Regions from separate parts of the Homo sapiens genome. Here all the other regions are linked to region 6. The links are contacts of gene promoters, found by promoter capture Hi-C in blood cells and fetal thymus (Javierre and others, 2016). All regions are on one chromosome and are shown on one strand. The core of a region is centred on a gene start or on the middle of the fragment in contact, and the rest is flanking DNA. Distances in the headings are between cores, read along the strand shown. Region 1 holds the start of PRPF39 (pre-mRNA processing factor 39). Region 2 overlaps TOGARAM1 (TOG array regulator of axonemal microtubules 1). Region 3 overlaps KLHL28 (kelch like family member 28). Region 4 overlaps TOGARAM1 (TOG array regulator of axonemal microtubules 1). Region 5 has its middle 19 kb from the start of DORIP1. Region 6 holds the start of SEC23A (SEC23 homolog A, COPII component). Region 7 overlaps PRPF39 (pre-mRNA processing factor 39).

Evidence for each region. Contacts are between HindIII fragments. The CHiCAGO score rates a contact against its expected background, and 5 or more counts as called.
Region 1: a contact is called between the fragment with the promoter of PRPF39 here and the fragment with the promoter of SEC23A in region 6, in 11 of 17 cell types (non-activated CD4 T cells, total CD4 T cells, naive CD8 T cells and 8 more). The highest score is 29.1, in non-activated CD4 T cells.
Region 2: a fragment that was not itself captured here is called in contact with the fragment with the promoter of SEC23A in region 6 in 1 of 17 cell types (total CD4 T cells); the score reaches 7.0 in total CD4 T cells.
Region 3: a fragment that was not itself captured here is called in contact with the fragment with the promoter of SEC23A in region 6 in 5 of 17 cell types (total B cells, total CD4 T cells, naive CD8 T cells and 2 more); the score reaches 16.2 in total B cells.
Region 4: a fragment that was not itself captured here is called in contact with the fragment with the promoter of SEC23A in region 6 in 3 of 17 cell types (activated CD4 T cells, total B cells and naive CD4 T cells); the score reaches 7.9 in activated CD4 T cells.
Region 5: a fragment that was not itself captured here is called in contact with the fragment with the promoter of SEC23A in region 6 in 3 of 17 cell types (naive CD8 T cells, M0 macrophages and non-activated CD4 T cells); the score reaches 11.5 in naive CD8 T cells.
Region 7: a fragment that was not itself captured here is called in contact with the fragment with the promoter of SEC23A in region 6 in 4 of 17 cell types (naive CD8 T cells, non-activated CD4 T cells, total CD4 T cells and 1 more); the score reaches 11.8 in naive CD8 T cells.

Annotation. Positions count from the first base shown.
Region 1 is chr14:45,082,283-45,085,552 of GRCh38, forward strand. PRPF39 (pre-mRNA processing factor 39) reads left to right here and starts at 1,834. Exons shown (of 14, transcript NM_017922.4): 1 at 1,834-1,967. It overlaps PRPF39-DT (PRPF39 divergent transcript), which reads right to left and starts at 1,744. Exons shown (of 2, transcript NR_184211.1): 1 at 1,190-1,744; 2 at 766-1,105. RefSeq lists a silencer at 1,539-1,828. The HindIII fragment of the contact is 5,294 bases long and covers 1,512-3,270 here.
Region 2 is chr14:44,977,818-44,980,984 of GRCh38, forward strand. All of the region lies in intron 1 of TOGARAM1 (TOG array regulator of axonemal microtubules 1), which reads left to right. Among named protein-coding and RNA genes, the nearest start is that of TOGARAM1, 17 kb to the left of the region's middle. The HindIII fragment of the contact is 5,411 bases long and covers 1-3,167 here.
Region 3 is chr14:44,954,015-44,956,896 of GRCh38, forward strand. The region is part of intron 1 of KLHL28 (kelch like family member 28); the gene reads right to left. Among named protein-coding and RNA genes, the nearest start is that of KLHL28, 6.5 kb to the right of the region's middle. The HindIII fragment of the contact is 4,594 bases long and covers 1-2,882 here.
Region 4 is chr14:45,065,231-45,068,295 of GRCh38, forward strand. TOGARAM1 (TOG array regulator of axonemal microtubules 1) reads left to right here. Exons shown (of 20, transcript NM_001308120.2): 17 at 1,348-1,537. Among named protein-coding and RNA genes, the nearest start is that of PRPF39-DT, 17 kb to the right of the region's middle. The HindIII fragment of the contact is 869 bases long and covers 1,025-1,893 here.
Region 5 is chr14:44,914,460-44,917,608 of GRCh38, forward strand. No RefSeq gene overlaps it. Among named protein-coding and RNA genes, the nearest start is that of DORIP1, 19 kb to the left of the region's middle. The HindIII fragment of the contact is 3,362 bases long and covers 56-3,149 here.
Region 6 is chr14:39,101,708-39,104,892 of GRCh38, forward strand. SEC23A (SEC23 homolog A, COPII component) reads right to left here and starts at 1,528. Exons shown (of 20, transcript NM_006364.4): 1 at 1,325-1,528. It overlaps SEC23A-AS1 (SEC23A antisense RNA 1), which reads left to right and starts at 1,433. Exons shown (of 2, transcript NR_146545.1): 1 at 1,433-1,664; 2 at 1,838-2,105. RefSeq lists silencers at 1,134-1,213, 1,234-1,353, 1,514-1,743. The HindIII fragment of the contact is 19,881 bases long and covers 1-3,185 here.
Region 7 is chr14:45,104,671-45,107,848 of GRCh38, forward strand. It overlaps PRPF39 (pre-mRNA processing factor 39), which reads left to right. Exons shown (of 14, transcript NM_017922.4): 6 at 2,781-2,946. Among named protein-coding and RNA genes, the nearest start is that of SNORD127, 4.6 kb to the right of the region's middle. The HindIII fragment of the contact is 6,663 bases long and covers 1-3,178 here.

The sequences.
Region 1 (3,270 bases), core at 584-3,083, 6.0 Mb after region 6:
AAGTTTAGGATTTCTTTAAAAAAAAAAAAAAAGTGGAGGAGGAAACCAGTGGAGGTTTTTAAGCGGGGGAGTGAGAGCAATAGCACCGGCTTGAAAGGTAAAATGTAAAAACTAGATAAAGGAAAACAACGAATCCACAGTGAATGAAGTTGAAGATGCAAGTAGATTTTTATAAAATGGCTATTTGAGTGAATGACATCTCAGAGATAATCTTATTTACTGATAAAGAAATTGAGGCCACCTTAGAAAGACCAAAGAACCAGAAAAGGAGTGAAGGTCATGCCAAACAGTCCCTGCGTAACAGTGCCAGCAGCAAACTCTGGTCTGTCTTCCCAACGCACCACTCCCTTGACTATTCTTCCCACAGTAAACATTTAAAAGCTGCTGTTTAAACCTGTGAAACAAACAAACAAAAAACATGGCCACACTGTCAGAGAATCCAAAAAAGTTAGCTTGGAAAGTAGAAGAGGCAAATGGAAAGGGAAAGCTACTACTAGGTGCAGTGTGATGCAAGTAAAAGGTAGGAAAAAAGACTGAATTTGGTATTTCGAACGAAAGGTGCTGGTGAGAGGATTTATGATTAACCTGCGTTGTGACAAGAAACGTCGTCTTGTAAATAAGTATTTCCAGAGGAGACAGATTTCAGATGAGGAACTTGGAGCCCAGTAGTAATACTAATGCACCTGGAACAACAGATTACATGGTAAGTGACAGGTGAATGCGGGGGCACCAATGTAACAGAATCTTAAAGGGAGAGAGGCCAGATTTGAAAGAAAATTTTTTTTTATTAAAGTGGAGATGGTGGTACAACTGAAGAGGACTGCTAAGATTGTTAACGCACAGTCCCCCTCAATTTGTCCAGAGGATAACATATCCCTTCAGATACAAAGATTTTTTTTTTTGCTTGGCCAACTTTAGTCAGGTTTCTGAATCTTCTGCTAGGCTCTTCTGTACACTTTCTTTGTAAAATCCAGTTTAAGCAAAGAACTTTGCTAAGTCAGATTAGCAATAAACCCCCATCCTTGATAGCTGATCATCCTCAATATCTGATCAGGTTCTTCAGTCTCCACCATCCCCCAGGTGATGCCTCATTATCTTGGCCTGTCTTCAGCAAAAATCCTATTAGGTGGGTTTAGCCAAAATCCCCCTTACCCTGATGTTTCCTCTTAGTAATTATACATTCACTTACCACCGCTCCTTGGCTATAAATCTCCACTTGCCCATGCTGTATGAGGAGTTGAGCCCAATATCTCTTTCCCTACTGCAAGTCTCCATTGCAGTCAGTGGTCCCTATACCTGTTGCGATGGTCCTGAATAAAGCCCTCTTTTTGTGCTTTAACAAGTGTCACTAAATACTTTTTTCTTTAACAATAGCCCGTTCTCCAAACCCCTAACTCCAGAACTGTTTAGTTTTCAGGAAACCTGAGTGGGCCCAGGGTCTATACCATCGTGAGATTTGTGGGTTTAAGGCTGAATTTCTGCCCGTTTTTAGGTAAATGTTTTAGTGTGAAAGCTTGAACAATTGTAGGGAAAACCTTAGATTTGCCCCCAAAAATGACATTTTGCCGTTTTTGGTGGGGAGGGGTCAGGGCGCTGTGTTTAAGATCAGGCGTGTGAAAGCCCCTAAACGCCCTCCTTTCCTTTGGGAAGTCCCTATGGAGGGAAAGGCAGGTAGGCGCAGCGGTCCCCGCCCTCGCTCGCGGCGGGGCGGGGCGGGGCTGCGGGGGCGGGGCTGGGGCCGCACGGGCAGCGAGGATCCCTGGGAGGGCCAGGCCTGCGCGCTGCGAACCCACGTGACTTTTTCGCCTCCAGGGACACTGACGCATGCGCATCGTGCCCTGGACCAGGCGGCCGTGGCGCGGGTGGCGGCTGCTGTGCTGGCTGTGGGGACGGAGGCGGTGAAGTGCCATCTTCGGCTAGGTCGTCACAGGCTCCGGCTCATGGCATCAAGTGGCATCCATCATAAGGTCTGCTGGGGCGGGCTCCTTGAAATTAGCTGGGGCAGAGGGTGGTACTTGGTACTGAAAGGGGCCTGCCGGGTTTCAGGCCGCGCTCTGGCCGCGGCCTCCCTCTCCCGCCCTGTTTGAGGCCTGGCTCGGATTCAGCGCTCAGCTGTCCATTCCTTTCTCCTTCCCACCTGTTGGGTGGAGCGGTGCAAGGTATTTTTTTCTTAGACCAAACGTTTCACTTGAGGGGTGCGTTAGGTAGGGTGGAGAAGTGTGGGCCTCCTTCGCCTGGATTTAGGAAGATATTTGGGGGTAATTCTAAAGCCCTTGCTTCTCCCGGAGCTGGAACACGGCTGGGGTGGCTGGAAGTGGAAGGAGCACATTTGCAGCCGCCAGAGGATTGGGAAGATAATATACGTTCTATTACTAAGGCATGTGAGCGCCTTGTAGGGCACGTTCTGTCTTCTGACTACATAAGCAACACTTTTGCGACCCTAAGTCACAGCACCCACAGCTTTTGGCAGGATACTTTAAAACAGAAAAAACACATCATTGATCCTGGCAGGATTTTTTAAGGGATTGTGCTTAAGAATGTTTAACTTTGGTAATCAGAGACCACCACTGGTGTTTTTCTCCAAAATCACATCTTTAAGTTAATTAATACTTGAAGTTAATAAATAATACTGCTCAGTGTATTAGTAATGATGCCATAATACCATGTGAATTTATGCTGATTCAAATGTTGTTTTTTTCGTTTGATACTCATATGGCCTTCTGTTTGAGGACTTCAGATTATTTAGCAACTGATTTAATCTGTTCAGAAATAAACTTTGCTACAGCTGGAAAGCGTGAGGCTTGAGAAAGCAAGTTTTGGACAGGGACGTATGAAGCTCATGTTGAAACTTAAGTGTTTTAGGCTGTATGGGAGCTTGAATGGAGTGAAAAGAACAAGCGTCTACTGTCAGGTTTTCCTCCTCCCTCTAGATTTATAACCTCATTCTAGAGTTGCAAAAGTTGGAACTTTCCACTGTTCACTCTCTAGTAGGGATAAAGTGATGGAAAGGAGTTCTGTTAAAGAGGACTAGTACTTAGATTGTGAACTTTGAAGTAGGGGTTGAGCATAGATGGCTCATAGGTGGTATGAGACACTATTTGTGTAAAGTCTCAGAATATTTTTCCTTGCTTATAATTGAATAAGAAAGAAGATGTTTAAAAGTCAAATGATAAAAATTGTATGTGCTGTTTTCTGTGGTATGTTTTAACAAATCTACATGGAAGATAGGACTTCAAAAAAAATTAAAAATAGCCGAAGGAGGAAGAAGGT
Region 2 (3,167 bases), core at 48-2,547, 5.9 Mb after region 6:
TTTGTATTTTTTAGTAGAGACAGGGTTTCACCATGTTGGCCAGGCTGGTCTCGAACTCCTGAGCTCAAGCAATCCTCCCTCCACTGCCTCTGAAAGTGCTGGGATTACAGGCATGAGCCACTGTGCCTGGCCTAGCCTTCTTTTTGAAAAGAACTGGGCAGCACCACGTGAGCTGATTTAAGGGAAATAAAAATGGTTTCCGTTTTTATAATTGCTAACATGAGATTTTGAGGATAATTGGTGATTTGTGTGCTTGAAAACTGTAATGGCAACATTCACAAAATCGTTATAAGTTTTTAAAGATATGTGTATGGGCATATGCTTTCTGGAAAAGAGGGCACTGATAAAAGTAGTTTGAGAATCATGAAGAGTTAAGTTACCTCATTGGAGCAAAATACGAGGTATAGTTAGTTTTCTCCTCTCCTCCCAAATTCCACTGTGCCCTCCAAAAAAGGTGGAGCAGATTACAAAGGACAGTTGGCTGTTTGGAAAAAGAAAAAAAAATGTTTAGCTGATATTATCATTTAGTCTTTTTCAGTGAATACTAACCATACATGTATGACATATATATAAAAATGAGATTTTTGTGCCTAAATGTTTCTAATTTACTTAGACAAAAATGTGAAGATTAAAAGATAATATAGCAAATTAGAGATTTAAACATCAAATTACTGATAGAAGCAGTAGTTACTAAAAGAAGATCAAAACCAGGAGCAGTGGCACATGCCTGTAATCCCAACACTTTGGGAGGCCAAGGCAGAAGGATTGCTTGAGCCCAGGAGTTTGAGAGCAGCCTGGACAATATGGTAGGACTCTAAAAAAATACAAAAATTAGCCAGGCATGGTGGCACATGTCTATAGTCCCAGCTACTTGGGAGACTCAGGTGGAGGATCACTTGAGCCTGGGAGGTCGAGGCTGTAATAAGCTGAGATCATAGTGTCACTGCACACTAGCCTGGGAGACAAAGTGAGACCTTGTCTCAAAAATTAAAAAAAAGAGAAAAAAAAAAGAAGAAGAAGATCAAGAGCCAGGCATGGTGGCATATACCTATAGGCCTGTAGTCTCAGCTCCTCAGGAGGCTGAGACAGGAGGATCATTTGAGCTCAGGAGTTCAAGGCCAGACTAGTCAACATTGCAAGATCCCATCTCTCTCTCTTTTTTTTTTTAATGTCACTAACCAATCCTACATGTGGACAAAATAGAAATAACAGATAAAAAAAAAAGGTTAGAGTAAGATGAATTTTGATATAACAATTAGGAGTCAAAATACTGGATTCTAGTACCAGTTTAGCTTTGTGATTGTGGACTTGACATAAATTTTGTATCCCTAATTTGCTTACCTATAAGTCACCATTAATAATAATAATAATAATACTGTTTTCAAAGGCAGCTATTCTTCTTCCTGCTGCTGTAACAAAATGTCTTAGACTGGGTAATTTATAAACAATAGACATTTATTGCTCCCAGTTCTGGGGACTGGGAAATCCAAGATCAAGGCATTGGCAAATTCAGCGTCCAGTTAAGGCTCTCTGCTTCATAGACAGCACCTTCTTGCTGTGTCCTTATGGGGTGGAAGGGACAAACAAGCTCCCACAGGCCTGTTTTATAAGGGCACTAATCCCATACTTGAGGGTGGAGCCCTCATGACCTAATCACCTCCCAAAGGCCCTACCTCTTACTACCATCACGTTGGGGATTAGATTTCAACATGATTTTTAAGGGGACACTTATTCAGACTATTGCAGCAGCTAACTCTTAAATAGCACTTACTCTATGCCAGGCATTATTCTATACACAAAGGTTAAATAACTTCCTTAAGGTCTCTTAGCTAGTGAGTGGCAGAGCTGATTTGAATGTAGGCAAAATGACTCCAGAGTTGGTGCCTTAACCATTTCACTATCAAATGATCTATAACTAACCTCTTTTCTCTGTACAGATTTTTTCATTTGAGCACCTTGGGAAATTAGCAGAGAGTTCCTGAAAAAGGTGAATGTGACCTGCTTCTTGACAGGAGCTAAGGCTTCAAATGGTCAGGAAGGTAAAATGCATTCCTGGCAAGGGAGATGGCTTGAAGAGATGGCATAAGGCATGATACAAGAGTGTGCTTAGTATGTGATTCCTTTGGAATCCTCAGCTCCTAATGAACCACTGAGCCTCAGAGCAAAGTATATTAGTGTTATAATATTGAAAAAAAAATCTAGACTATGGATAACCTTATTTAGTAGCTGAAGCTGGCCTCCTCTGTAGTCTTAAGACTCCACATAGCAGGTCTCAGTACTTCCTTTTATGTATGTCACATATTCATGTGTCCTCCATACTCAGTTACAGGTCTGGCTCCTGGCCTGATTTGTACTGGCTCTTGGCCAGGCTCTCTGCTTTAACATTTACAGTCCACTGTTAATCTGTTATTTCTATCTTGTCCACATGTAGGATTGGTTAGTGACATTAAATACAAAATTTCCAGAAAAAAAATCATGAATATTTCAATTACATACTCCTGTAGCTCATTTTGGAGATAAATAGACCAGTTTGTTTGGAAGGATGATTTTTTAAATGTAATAGTGGCAGGCCGGGCGGGTGGCTTACACTTGTAATTGCACCACTTTGAGAGGTCAGTGTGGGTGAGGGAAGCGGAGCAGATCACTTGAGGTCAGGAGTTTGAGACCAGCCTGGCCAACATAGTGAAACCTTGTCTCTAGTAAAAATACAAAAATTAGTTGGGCATGGTGGCATGCACCTGTAATCCCAGCTACCCAGGAGGCTGAGGCAAGAAAATCACTTGAACCCAGGAGGCAGAGGTTGGAGTGAACCCAGATGGTGCCACTGCACTCCAGCCATGGCAACAGAGTGAGACTCGGTCCCCACCCTGCCAAAAGTAGTAGTGGGAAATATGATTACAAGAGTGAGGCAGGGGCTAGATTGGAGACTCTTGAATACCATGCTAAGGAATTTAACCTGTTATTTTGACAGTAATTTCAGATTGCTGGAGGGTTTTTGTTTGTTTCTCTTTTGGGGGAGGGGGTCTTTTCTTTTTAAAACAATGTTTAGAAAAATTAATCACAAAAGCAGCAATGTGTAGTTTAAACCAATTAGATACTTATTAGACTGATTTAGATGTGAGTTGTTCAGTTTTATGAGGATTAGCAGGGTATCAGGATTAGGAAAA
Region 3 (2,882 bases), core at 74-2,573, 5.9 Mb after region 6:
GAAATGAACAGATGTTTGTTAAAAACATAAATGATTTTAACCATACAAAAATTGCTCAACTTCACTTAAAATCAAATAAATTAATACATGGAGTTAACAATTCTCTCTTGACAGTATAGTCTGTTGGTGAGGATGTGAGAAACAGGAAATCTCACTCATTGCTGTGGGAATAGAAAATGATACAAAACCTCTGGAGGTAAATCTGTCAAAATACAGCAAAATTACATTTGGATTTTTCCTTTGACCCAAAAACCCTACTTCTAAGAATCTATCCAAAAATTACACTGGCAAAAATGTATAAAGACAAATCCATAAGGCTAATAATAATTGCAGATCTATTTATAAAAACAAAATAATATACTCATGTTTCTTATTCCTCATATTTGAGAGACCAAAAGGCAACTGACCAAGATTTTTAAAACAACTCTCATGTCCAGCAACAAAAGAATGGTTGTGAAAACTATAGAGCATCCACACAATGCAGTACTATACAGCGATGAAAAGGAATGAGGAATCTCTGTATAGAATACTCTGCAGTGATCTCCCTGATCTAAGCAAAGTGTGTTTAGTGTGTCACCATTTATCTACGATAGGGAAGATTACAAACATACATAATCATTTCTATTAAAAAAAGGAAATTTTACACAATATATACTTTTAAAGGTTACCTACAAGAGGAGGTATGGAACTAAAAACTAGAGGATAGAGATAGAAGGTAGATATTTTTGAATATACTCTGTTTTATAGATTTGACTGTGGAATCAGAAAAGTATTTTATGTAATTATAAAGCACAATTAAATCTTAAAAACATGATCCATAAGAAATTTGAAAATTGAAAATACAAAGGAAGAAAATATCAACTTAGTGGCCTTACCATACCATTCCAAATAACTTTAAAACAGTAATCTGAAGTCTCTATTGCGACATGCCCTAAAATATATATCTTATGCTGTTTTCAGTAATCGCATTGTTGATAAGGACACTGTTTATTTGTATTGTGACACTGTTAATGTGTGTATTGTGCTATAAAGCAAATGAGTAATGATATGATATTCTATCAACCCTAGGGTCACTGTGATCTAGGATTCTTGGTATGGGAAAAAGAAGGTAACGACATAACACTAAGATGTTAATTATGAACCTCACAGTCTGTATTTGAATAAAAAGTATGAGAATAAATATATGTATATAAATAACAGTAAATATTCATATATACTAATACATAATTTATATATAATACATAAAATACATGTGAGCTATACATACATATTAAATATACGTAATATTATTTTAAGGAAAAAAATAAATTATATTTCCTAGCTCTGTCTACTGAAAAGGTCTAGAAACTGACCATCCCGGTAGCAAAGAACACTTCTAGCATTCAGATGTACTCTCTAAATACCATTTCCCTCAAAGAGAACAGAACTCCTTGGGCAGATAGCTGATACCATGTCTGGGGCAGAAGATGTCAAGACACATTTGGAATCTAAATCCTAGGTAGTATAATCCCAGCACTTTGGGAGGCTAAGGTGGGAGGATAGCTTGAGCCCAGGAGTTTGAGACCAGCCTGGGCAACACGGTGAAATTCCGTCTCTACAAAGAAAAAAAACAAATAAAAAAATTAGCTGGATGTGGTGGCACATGCCTGTAGTCTCAGCTACTTGGGGGGCTGAGCTAGGAGAATTGCTTGTGCCCAGGAGGTCGAGGCTGCAGTGTGCAGTGATTGCACAACTGCACTCCAGCCTGGGAGACAGAGTGAGGCCCTGCCTCAAAATAAATAAATAAATACATCCTAGGTAGCAAGAAAGCTATCAAATACTACAAGAGTCATATAAAAAATATTCAGGGGCCAAACTAAATAGGCTTTCACTAGTCAAAGACAGGACAAACTGATCATCAATAATAATAACTGCAATTGATTAAACGATATCAGATATTTTAAATGCATGAGTTAATAATGATACTTAAAAAAAGTCCTAATGGTCAACACCGGACGATGCTAATGTAGCAACTCATTTTTTGAAACCTAGTAAACAAAGAGAAATAATCAAACATTTATTATGCCTTTCCTACACTAACTGTACTACTGGGTTTCCAAATAGATGAGTTTTTTTGTTTTTGTTTTTTAAGAGATAGGGTCTTGCTACCTTGCCGAAACTAGTCTCAATCTCCTGGTCTTAAGCGATCCTCCCACCTTGGCCTCCCAAAGTACTGGGGTTACAGACATGAGCCACTACACCTGGCCAAATTTCTCTTTTTAAAAGTATCCCTGTTAATAAATAAAGAAGGAATAATGGAATATTATCATTTTGCATCCTTAATAAATAATGGGCATTGATTGTGAAGGGCTGTTTATATCACAAAAAGAGAGATAGCTAGATAATTGGGCCTTCTGATGGAAAAACATAACACCCATGAGTATTCTCACGTCCCAACCCCAACACACACCAAAGTCAAGCAAATTAAACTACAGCCAATTCTCTAGTTCCAACTATTAATTTACATAAAATATAGAAAATAGAAAAATCATGTTAAACAATACCAGAAAGATGCAATTAGCAAAAACATACCGACTGTGAAAAATCTTGTAAAATAAACTAAATTCTTCAACAAATAAACTGCAAGAAATAAAGAGAATGAATCTATAAATTTAAAAGACGTATCAATCAAATACAACCTGTGAACCATAGACTTGTGTGTGCACCCACATATTTAGAAAACAGTTGGAAATTTACACACTGACTGGATTATTAATATATTAATTAATCACTGCTATTTTTTGTTGCTAAATAGTGGTATTGTGGTTGTGTTTTTAAGAGCTTTTTTCTTTTACAGATATATGCTGAAATTGGTGTGCAATGGTGCAATTATAGCTCACTGT
Region 4 (3,065 bases), core at 209-2,708, 6.0 Mb after region 6:
ATTGACCAACCAACCTACCTGTCACTTTGCATGACTCTTTAGTTTCAAAAGGATGATCATCTAAACAGGGGTGTCCAATCTTTTGCTTCCCTTGCCACACTGCAGAAGAATTGTCTTGGCCACACATAAAATACACCAACACTAATGATGGCTGATGAGCTAAAAACAAAAAAACAAAAGAAAAAACATTCACATATACACAAAAATCTCATAATGTTTTAAGAAAATTTATGAATTTGTGTTAGGCTGCATTTAAAGCTGTCCTGGGCTGCATGCGACCTGCAGACCATGGGATGGACAAGCTGGATCTACCACATTGAGTTACCCCTTTATAGCCACGAAAAATATTATGCTATGAATACTGTCATTGCCATAATAATTCCTGCTGGTCTCTAGTTTCTCATTGTCCCATGAGTGTTCTCACGGATACTTTGCAGGAAAGAGTTAACATAACAGGGCCCAAGACTGCTATTCTTAGAAAGGCCTGCTTAGAGAGATTGCCCATTGGTTGACATCTGGGAACTTAGGTTTTGGAAAGATTTCAACTATTCCTCATAAGAGTGGTTCACTTAATCTTCTCTGGAGGATGAGTTTTTTGAAAGAGGTTCAAGGTAATTTATCTAGATCTCAACGGGCAAGGAAGCTGTTCAGAAAAAAGTTAACATTGCAGTCCTGAGACTGCTATCCCTAAAAAAGGCTGCTTGCAAGGTTAGCTCTTCGCTGACATGGGAAACTAGGATTTCAAGAGGATTCCCACTATGCCCTAACTGATAAGATAGTTTACTGCGCCTAAATTGTTTGGGCAAACAATATGGTTTATGCTGGAGGCCTGGTTTCCTTCTGGGAGTCTGGAATTTTGGTATGTCCTAGGCAGACAGTCCCTACATTACCAGCTCCCAGTGAAAACTCTAGACATGAGGCCTCTAATAAGCTTACTTAGTAGACAACATTTCACATATGTTGTCATAACTCATTGCTGAAGGAATTGTGTTCTGTGCGACTCTACTGGGAAAGGACTCTTAAAAGCTTAGATCTGGTTTCCTCTGGTCTTTGACTTGTGCACCTGTTCCCTCAGCTGATTTTGTTTGGTATCCTTCTGCTGTAATAAATTTTAGCCATGAGTAAAAGTATAGGCTAACTCTTACGAGTCTTCCTAGCAAATATCCAAATCCAGGGGAGATCCTGGGGACCCCCAGGAGAGATACTGTGGCTATGGGTTAGCCACAGTTTTTTGCATTTTATGCATTTTGGAAAATGAATGCATAATGAGATTTTTAAATTATGTTTGTATAATAGTTTTTATAGGAAAGTACAAATGAAATTACCTTCACCTTTCTTTCACTTTAGAGCTGTAACTGAAGTTCGTGAAGTCACCAGAAAATCAGTCCCTCGTAATTCCTTAGAAAGTGCTGAGTACCTTAAACTCATAACTGGCTTATTAAATGCAAAAGACTTTCGTGATCGTATTAATGGGATTAAGCAGCTTTTATCAGATACAGAAAATAATCAAGACCTTGTTGTTGGAAACATTGTGAAGGTAAGGACTTGTCAGAATTAATTTTAATGTGGGTATGGTGGCTCACGCCTGTAATCCAAGCACTTTGGGAAGCCAAGGTAGAAGGATCTCTTGAGGCTAGGAGTTCAAAGTTCAAGCCCAACCTGGGCAACATAGCAAGACCCTGTCTCTACAAAAAAGAAAATAAAAATTTATTTTCATTTGAAATCTATGTCAAATGAAGTTTATCAGTTTAAAACATTGCCCTAAATCTTAGTGTTTTATATACCTTCTCTCTATATCTATATACAAATTACACAAATTTAAAATGGAATGTAACTAATAAATTACTTATATACATATCATATATAGATATATAATTCTCAAGTGTGAAAATAAGCTTAGTGAAAAGAATGGATTTTCTAGGTTTTTCTAGGTTAAAAGCATACTAGAACAACTCAAAGTCACTGAAACAAAGTAAGAGGATAGCTATTTATTAGTCTGAATCCTGCCACAAGATGGTAAGCTCCTTGAAACTGCTATATTCTCAGAGCTCTCAGAACCTGGCATCTAGTAAATATATGTTGAATTAATCAATACATATTTTTAAAAAGCAAAGACAGATAAGAGACTTGATATTGCTTTAGAACAGATAATAAAACTTTCCATATGTGGGTTAGAAATCTCTATATACTGACTCCTGTGTACCTATCTTTAGGAAGACAATAAGCAAAAGAAAGGGAAATATTAATAAATATTCATCATGTCAGAGCATAGATTATTTTTGCTTGATCAGAATTTAGTTCAGTTAATTCTATTAATAATTTATTAATTAAATTTCATTTTAAATTTGTGTAATGTGCATTATACTTGGCAAACATACCATAAGTACTCTTTACTTCTCATGGTATTGTCTCAGTTTTCTGAAGAAAAGAACCATATTACCATGTCATGGGAGCCAGAAAGTTATATTTTCTGATATCTATTGAGTAAAAATAAATCTCTTGGGAAGATTATTCTTAACATGAAAAATAATAAATAAGTATTAGAAATTATTAGTGAATAGTCTCAGCTCATAGAGTAGCTCTTCACTCACCTGACATGACTAAAGGATTGTTTAGCATTCACTTTATTATATCTTGAGTTTATGAAAGTTAAGGATTCTGAAGAGCAAGGAATTATTGTTAAAAGTTTTCAGGTTAAGAGATAATAATACAAATTTAACTCTGAAATTGCATCTAAAATTTTCATAATAAACCTAAACTGAAACTAGGTTAAATCTCCACAGTAAAACTTACAAGTCTACTTCTAGTGTGAAAAGAGATAAAAACAGAAACTTTTCTAAGTTCTTAGAGTTAGCTAAGCTAACCTCCATCTTCCAGAAAACAAGATGTTTATCATATTTACAGTCAGTCAGTCAGTCATCTGCCTACTGAGCCACATTTTTCAGCCTTTATTAGGATGTCTTTTGGGGTGATTTTTGAGGCCTTCTCTTTTTGTTACAAGAAGATTTGACACTTAGATTTAGTACCCAAATTTTTATAAAGTTCCTGTTATCCAAGTTCAGGCA
Region 5 (3,149 bases), core at 487-2,986, 5.8 Mb after region 6:
CCCCCTCTTCCTTCAGCTCTCTTTTTGAGAAGGCTTAGGAATTTTATCCTCAGCAAGCTTATAAAATGCCAGAAGACCTAATTTAGGATTGTCCTTTTTCACCCAGGAAAAAGACTGGATTTGCAGACTAAGTGAATCATGCTATATGATCAATGAATTATCTCTTTTATCATTAGTTCTTGATTGATTGTGTTTTCAGGCTGTCGAGGAAAGGCAAGAATATGGCAGTTAAATCCGGATTTTGAAGTTAGATTGCCTGGATTCAAATCCAGGCTCAGTCATGGGCTGTGTAGCTTTGGGCATGTGACTTAACCTATTTGTTTCCTCACTGTAAAGTGGAGATAATACTAGAATATATCTCATAAGGTTGTAGTGAGGATTAAATGAATTACTATATATAGCACTTACTGCCTGACACATAGTAAGCACTATGAAAGTGCTAGCTGCTGAGGCAGGAGAATAGGGAATTAGGGTAACCAAGGGTTAATGCATAAGCAAAAGAACAGCAGGCGCAGATAGTTCTAGGCAAGATTAGGCAGCATACAGGCTACATCTTGGCTCCTGTGATAACAAGACAGAAGTTTCCGCTTCAATCTGTGATTGACTGCAGGGCAAGCCTCCACTTCAGCCTCTGGTTGGTCGTAGGCCAATCCTTCATAGGGTGTAACCAACTGGAGGCCTCCAAATGTTATGTAGGGGTGTTGCCCATGTTCTTTTGGCTTTATAAAAACCTTGGGGAGCATTTCAGTAGCGGGACTCTTGAGCTGCCTCTTGAAGCCCATTCCCAGTCTGTGGAATGTACTTTCACTACAATGAATCTGTGTTTTCATTACTCTATTCTTTTGTTGCTTTGTCTTTTGTTGTTTCTTTCTTTTGTTACTTTGTGTATTTTGTTCAATTCTTTGTTCAACACGCCAAGAACCTGGACAATTCACAGTTAAGAACTTCCCACCCAGTAACATTACCATTATGGATTCCTCTTTCAATATTTTATTAAGAAATTACAGCAAATTAGTGTGTAGTGTTGTTGCAGAAAATTAAATTCTATGCAAATATTTCAAGTTTGTTGGCTGAAAACCATTGCTGGTATTTCTGTGGAAATGAAGATCACAGAACAAATTACAATGTAAAAATAGTTTTAAAAAGTTAAATACATGAATTAGTTTAAAATGCAAGAACAAAGCAAAGCAAAAATTTGAAGAGAAAGTGAATAAAGTTTCCTAGACATCAAATGGTAAAATATCCCATATTGTTCCTGTTCAAAATCTTTAACCATTTAACCACCAGATACTATCCAAAATTGTTTATCCCCCTACCATAGTCTTCAGTGTTTATGTCTGCCCACAATTCATATGTTGAAACTCTCATCCCCAAAATGATGGCATTAGGAGGTGGGGCAAGGCAATTAGGTCATGACAGTGGAGCCCTCCTGGATGGGATTAGTGCCCTTAGAAAAAAGACCCAAGAGAGATGCCACACTCCTACTACCATGTGAAGGCATAGCAAGATTACGCCTATGAACCAGAAAAAAAGTGTTCTTACCAGAAACCAAATCTGCCTTTATCTTGGACTTCCCAGCCTCCAGAACTGTGGGAAATAATTTCTGTTGCTTATAAGCTACTCAGTTTATGGTATTTTGTTACAGCAGTCCAAATGAACTAAGATACCACCATGTATACATACACATATACACACTATATATGTGTGTATATACACACACATATACACACTATATATGTGTGTATATACACACACATATACACACTATATATGTGTGTACACACACACACACACACTATATATGTGTGTACACACACACACACATACACACTATATATGTGTGTACACACACACACACATACACACTATATATGTGTGTACACACACACATATACACACTATATATGTGTGTACACACACACACATATACACACTATATATGTGTGTACACACACACACATATACACACTATATATGTGTGTACACACACACACATATACACACTATATATGTGTGTACACACACACACATATACACACTATATATGTGTGTACACACACACACATATACACACTATATATGTGTGTACACACACACACATACACACTATATATGTGTGTACACACACACACATACACACTATATATGTGTGTATACACACACACATATACACACTATATATGTGTGTATACACACACATATACACACTATATATGTGTGTATACACACACATATACACACTATATATGTGTGTATTCACACATATACACACTATATATGTGTGTGTATACACACATATACACACTATATATGTGTGTATACACACATATACACACTATATATGTGTGTATATACACACACATATACACACTATATATGTGTATACACACACATATACGCACTATATATGTGTGTATACACACACATATACGCACTATATATGTGTGTATACACACACATATACGCACTATATATGTGTGTATATACACACACATATACGCACTATATATGTGTGTGTATATACACACACATATATGCACTATATATGTGTGTGTATATACACACACATAAATACACTATATATGTGTGTGTATATACACACATATATACACTATATATGTGTGTGTATACACACATATATACACTATGTGTGTGTACACATACATATATACACTGTGTGTGTACACTCACATATATACACTGTGTGTGTACATATATACACTATGTGTGTGTACACTCACATATATACACTGTGTGTGTACATATATACACTGTGTGTACACTCACATATATACACTGTGTGTGTACACACATATACACTGTGTGTACACACATATATACACTGTGTACACACACATATATACACTATGTACACACACATATATACACTGTGTACACACACACACGCACTGTGTGTGTGTACACGCACACACGCACTGTGTGTGTGTACACGCACACACGCACTGTGTGTGTGTATATACGTATATACACCATATATGTGCGTATATACGTATATAGTGTGTGTACATATGTATATATACACATATAGTGTGTGTATATATGACTTTGATATATATTTCTATATGTCTTAGACATATATAGATATACACATATATCTATATATAGACATACACATATACGTATATATA
Region 6 (3,185 bases), core at 278-2,777:
AATGTACTTGCCAAGTAAATTTGAGTTCCTTCCAATTACATGTATTTGTTAGTTGCCAATTAAATTTGTCTCCTACTTTTCACTTCCAAAATCCTCAATGAATTGTCTTCTTATGATCTTGGACAATTAACCTCTCTGAATCCTGTTTTTCTCATCAGCAAAATAAGAGACTTGGACTAGAAAATCACAAGGTCCCATCTAACTCTAAAATTCTGTAAGTCAATTAAAAATAGCTGGACTCTGGCCGGGCGCAGTGGCTCATGCCTGTGATCCCAGCACTTTGGGAGGCCGAGGCGGGCGGATCACCTGAGGTCAGGAGTTCGAGACCAGCCTGGCCAACATGGTGAAACCCCGTCTCTACTAAAGATACAAAAATTAGCCGGGCATAGTAGCTCGCCCCTGTAATCCCAGCTACTCGGGAGGCTGAAGCAGGAGAATCGCTTGAACCAGGGAGGCGGAGGTTGCAGTGAGCCGAGATTGCGCCACTGCACTCCAGCCTGGGCGACAAAGCAAGACTCCGTCTCAGAAAAAAAAAAAATAGCTGGACTTCTGAAATGATGTTCATTCACTACCAGAGGAGAAAGAGAAGGAAAACTCAACATGCATTTATATTTAAATCTAAAACCTTTTTAAACCAAGTTAATTTGGCTAGTTATCCATGGCTTTGGACGGTAGAGGTTGAGGGAGTTCAAGTGAAAACGAGAATTCCACATCCCCACTTCAGTGATTGATGTAGATTTACTATGACCTTCCTCAGGCAGTACCTTTACCACCAAATCGGGAAACACTACCTACCGTAGAAAGAAAGCCCAGTGAGATAGGGCTGGTCCTGCTGGAAAACTGAACTCTTTGTAATCAAAACCCAAGGCATTATCTTTACCAAGCTCTTTTCCCCTTTAACCCCTTTAACTTCCAAGGCTGAATTACGGTGACGTAGTCAATTGGGTTCAAAGTCTAGGACACTCCATATCTGGCAAGGAATGAAACAGTAAGTCCAAGGGCCCAGAGGCGATGATGGACTTGGGTGGAGGTGGGTGGCCCAGGAGGTGGGGGTGGGTGCTGGGCGAGATGCTCGAACCACCGTTTTCCACATCTTTCCACCTAATCCAGGGGAGCTGGAGGAGGCCGGGCCCCCGGCCCCGGCAGAGCGAAGTGGGTGAGAGGGTGGCAAGCTCAGCACTCAACGCTCCCCGCGCCGGACCGGGCCTCAGCCTCCAGCACACCTCGCTGGCCCCGGGGCACCGAGAGGGCAGAGCCGGGACCACCCCAGGATCCCAGCCCCCAGCCCGCCGCCGCCAGCCCGCCCCCGCTCCCCGCTGCGCACCTGCGGTCCCCCAGGAGCGGAGACGAGGCGGCCCTTTCCTCACTGTCCCCCTGCAGGACCCGTCGCAGCCTCCGCTTTGCAAAATCTGTCCTCTCCGCCCAGCAGGAGCAGTCCGTGGCACCGCAATCAGGGGTGGCGCCACCCCGCCCCGGGCCTCAGCGAAGACCTCCGCCCGGCCAACATGGCTGGCGCCGCCTCTGCCACGTCAAGAGGAGGGGACGGGGCGTGAGGGCAGGAAGGGGGCAGGAAGGGGCGGGCGCAGAGTTACCAGGGCAGGCCACCGGACCCCTGAGCTTGCTTAATAACCGGAGGATTTGAGAAAGGCGCGCGGCGGGCGAAGGTACCGAGAGGGGAGGAGGGAGGAGAGGTAGCGGGGACCGAGCCAGAGGGGCGGAAGAACCCGGAAGACCCAGGCAGCCGGACGGCCGAGGGGCGTGGGACCGGGCAGAGCGGGACCGGGAGAGAGCGCCTTTCCCAGCTCCCTAAAGCCACAGCGTATCCCACTCCCTGCAGGTCGCAGAAAGAGTGGAGAACTGGTGCCACTCGGACACCTTAGCTCACCGAGAGAAATGGAGACGGCCTCCAGGACATCTTAGGACCCTGGTTGATTCCGAGAATCACAAATCACATCTCTGAAAAAAGTGAAAAGTTCATTCTTTCACTTAGTGCAACAAATGTTTACTGAAACTTACTATGTGCCAGACACAATTGAGATGCTGGTAATATGATGCAGGCAAAGTAGGCCCAGATCCCTGGCCCGAAAGAATTCACGTACTATTTATGTATTTTAGTCAGCCTGTCTTTTCCTCCTACATTGCCTCTGCCACTTCAACTCTGTCTCCCCCCACCCCCAAAACACACACACAGTACAATATTTGGCTGATTCATCTTGATATGTTCAATGTTTTTCTTTCCAAGAAAAAAGTTGAACAAAATGAGAAAGCAACAGATTGGTAAGACATTAGAGCTTGGTGGTCTCAGACAACCCCTTCCTTCAGTGAGGGGAATGAAATTAAGTGCCCATGGAATTAATTGCATATATGACAACGCCTAAAAGCCTGCAAAGTTTAGCCATATCAACATTTTATGGAATGGAAAAAAAGATCAAGTCCCTGTCCTTGAAAGCTCATATTCATGAGAAATAAGACAGCAGCACCAGGCTGGGCGCGGTGGCTCACGCCTGTAATCCCAACACTTTGGGAGGCGGAGGCAGGCGGATCACAAGGTAAGGAGTTCGAGACCAGCCTGGCCAACATAGTGAAACACCGTCTCTACTAAAAATACAAAAATTAGCCGGGTGTGGTGGCACGCTCCTGTAGTCCCAGCTACTCGGGAGGATGAGGCAGAAGAATTGCTTGAACCCGGGAGGCGGAGGTTGCAGTGAGCCGAGACCACGCCATTGCACTCCAGCCTGGGTGACAGAGTGAGACTGTCTCAAAAAAAAAAGCACCAAACATATTTCCCTTTCTATAATGTGTGTACTAAAGTTGTTTTGGAAGGTGGAAGAGGATGTTTGCTTGTCAAATTGTAATACAATCCTGAAGAGGGCAATGGGAATCGAAAGCCAAAAATTAGTGTAGGCTTCCAAATAAAGTAGGTTCAAGGTGCTACCTTAATGAAGATTCTTAACAGCACACAGCAGAGGTGTTGTTATAAAGGTGGAATAAGTACACCCACCAAAAGCGACAAGATCTAAGAATGAGTAGGATAAAAAGATCTTAGTCCATTTAGGCTGCTAACACAAATGCCCTCAACTGGGTAGCTCATAAACAACAGAAATTTATTTCTGACTGTCCTGGAGGCTGAGAAGTCCAGGATCAAGATGCCAGCAGATTTGGTGTCCGGTGAGGACCTGCTTTCT
Region 7 (3,178 bases), core at 198-2,697, 6.0 Mb after region 6:
CATTGGATGTACCCTGCACATTATCTCTGAGATAATGTCTAATTTAAATCCTTCTTTAGCATGAGGACTTTGTGATCTGGTCTAACATCCAGGTCCAATCCCTGGTGGTTCCTGAGCTCTAGACACACCTAAGTCTGATAACTTCCCAAAGGGCAGTGTTGTTTTATATCTTTATGACTGTAATACCTTTTCCTCTTTCCACTTGTCTAGTGGACTTATATTCCCTGAGACCACACAGTTTTGTGTCTTCTCTGTGAAATTTTCTCTGGTTCTCCTATACTGAGATACCTAGTCTGTTATTTGTGCCATGACTTTACCTACATTTATTTACATTTATATTAGCACCAGTAACACTGCTTTGAATTTATGTCTCTTATATCCTCAACATGCCTGTCAGTTTCTGAGGCTTAATTCTTTGTATCTCTAATATTTAGGAATAGAGCTCAATATATATTAGGCAGTCAGCCAGTCTTTACTGAATAAATGTTAGCTTTATAATACAAAAAACTGCTGAAAAAATACTGCTTAATATTATGCACATTTTGTCACTGTTTTAAAGAAGTTGTTACATGATGTAGCAATAAGTCATTTTAGATTTATGTACTGTATGTAGTTATTTTGAAATTTTACCTTAAGTTTTTAATTCATTTGTTGACCATTCTGAGTTTTAATATTCATCTGTAATTAAATCTGTTTTTTCATACTACATATTTGAGAGTTACTTCCTTATTTTTAATTTTTTAACATAAGGCAATCTTTGTTAATTTTTTTCCACCTGGTGCTGAAATGGGCCGTTAGCCTCTGTATCCATTGACTTTGCAAAATTTAAATTAGATTCCAATGTTATTTATATACTTTTTTTTTTTTTTTTTTTGAGGTGAAATCTCGCTCTGTTGCCCAGGCTGGATTGCAGTGGTGCAGTCTTGGCTCACTGCAGCCTCCACCTCCCAGGTTCAAGTGATTCTCCTGCCTCAGCCTCCCGAGTAGCTGGGATTACAGGTGCCCGCCCCGACACGGAGCTAATTTTTGTATTTTTGGTACAGATGGGTTTCAGCGTGTTTGCCAGGCTGGTCTCAAACTCCTGACCTCAGGTGATCCGCCCACCTCAGCCTCCCAAAGTGCTGGGATTACAGGCGTCAGCAGGCGCCTGACCTGTTTGCTTACTTTTTAGTAACATTTCTGATAGTAGTATAGAGGTGGGAATGGGAGTTGTGAGACTAGAGGCTGCAAGGTCATTTTATGTTTATCCAGCTTAAAAGTCCCGAGGTGATGAACATGTATTTAAAAGGTACAGTCAGTAGGACCTGGTATCTAATGTAAATGAAAAGCTAGGTGGAAGAGATTGAGAGATGTAGTGGTTGACAGTACCATTAATCAATATTAGAAATGCTGAGGGTGGCGGGGCACGGTGGCTCACACCTGTAATCCCAGCACTTTGGGAGGCTGAGGCGGGTGGATCACCTGAGGTCAGGAGTTCGAGACCAGGCTGCCAACAAGGTGAAACCCCGTCTCTACTAAAATTAGAAAAATTAGCTGGGCGTGGTGGTGCGCACCTGTAATCCCAGCTACTTGGGAGGCTGAGGCAGGAGAATTGCTTGAACCCGGGAGGTGGAGCTTGCAGTGAGCCAAGATAGAACGATTGCACTCTAGCCTGGGCAACAGAGCAGGACTCCATCTCACACAAGAAAATAAAGAAAGAAATACTGAGGGTATTCATTTTCAGATGAAGATGCCATACTTATTTTAAAATATTTCATATTTGAGGTTCCAAAGGTATATTCAAATTGTGATAGTGTAGATATTTTAGCTCCTCAACCTGGTATTTTTGATTACAATTTGTATGTATACAAATTATTGCATGTTTTTATAAAATAGTGAAATGATATTTTTTTCAAAAATCTTTTTATAGATTAGCTTAAAACTAATCCACATTTCTTTGTGCAGAGTATTGGCAGTTGTATATGCTAATGTGATTAGGAGAAAGGTTTGGACTTGTGTTGTAGTTTTGAGAGTCATCATGGTATACTTATTTCAAGCTGTATGAATGAGATTGGCCAGAAGTATGTATTAATAAAAATAGATGAGAACCAAATGGAGAGTGGAATACTTGGGTATAGTAGCATTTAGGGCAGGTAAGAAGGGGAATAAGACATAGAGCAGCAGTCAGAGGCTTGGAGGACCATACTACAAAACAAGTGTCCATTTAATTTTATATATGAGGTAATTGATAATCTTAATTGGGCAGTTTCATTGGATTTTTGCGTACTCACATGTGGATGAGGAGTATTTGGGAGGTGGGAAGGAAATGCTATATTTGTTGGTTATTTACAAGTGATCATTTAGAATTTAAATATGGATTACAGTATTTAATTTTACTGTAACTTTTATGTCTTTGTAGTAAAATAGATTCTATGACACACGAATAGGTATTATCATCTTATTTTACAATTGAGGAAACTAAGATTTAGAGAAAAGAAAACCTTCCCTAGTCAGATAACCAGTAACAGACAGAACTGAGGTTTGAATTTATGCCCGTCCATGCCTTCTCCATTCCACTGTAAAGGTAGGAAGAAATTGAAGATGTCTATAGACTGTTTTATCATATGGTAGTGTTTTATCATATATGGTAGGATTTTACTATAGAAAAGAAGGAGAAAAGGTATGATATTTTGGTTTCTTTTTTAAATCAAATCCTTTGAAAGAGTAGTATATAGTAGGAATCTCAATATGAGATCTAAAATTATGATTCAAATACATATATTTTTATTGTCTTCCTTTAGATTTAAAGAACATGTACAGAATAATTTGCCTAGAGATCTTTTAACTGGTGAACAGTTTATTCAGTTGCGAAGGGAATTAGCTTCTGTAAATGGTCATAGTGGTGATGATGGTCCTCCTGGTGATGATCTACCATCGGGAATTGAAGACATAACCGATCCTGCAAAGGTAACCAGTCTTATTCTAAAGTTCGTCAGTGGCCAGGTATGGTGGCTTATGCCTGTAATCGCAGCACTTTGGGAGGCCAAGGTAGGCGGGTCACCTGAGGTCCGGAGTTTGAGACCCATGTAGGCAACATGGTGAAACCCTGTCTATACTAAACATACAAAAATTAGCCAGGTGTGGTGGCACATGACTGTAGTCCCATCTACTTGGGAGGCTGAGGTGGGAAGATTGCTTG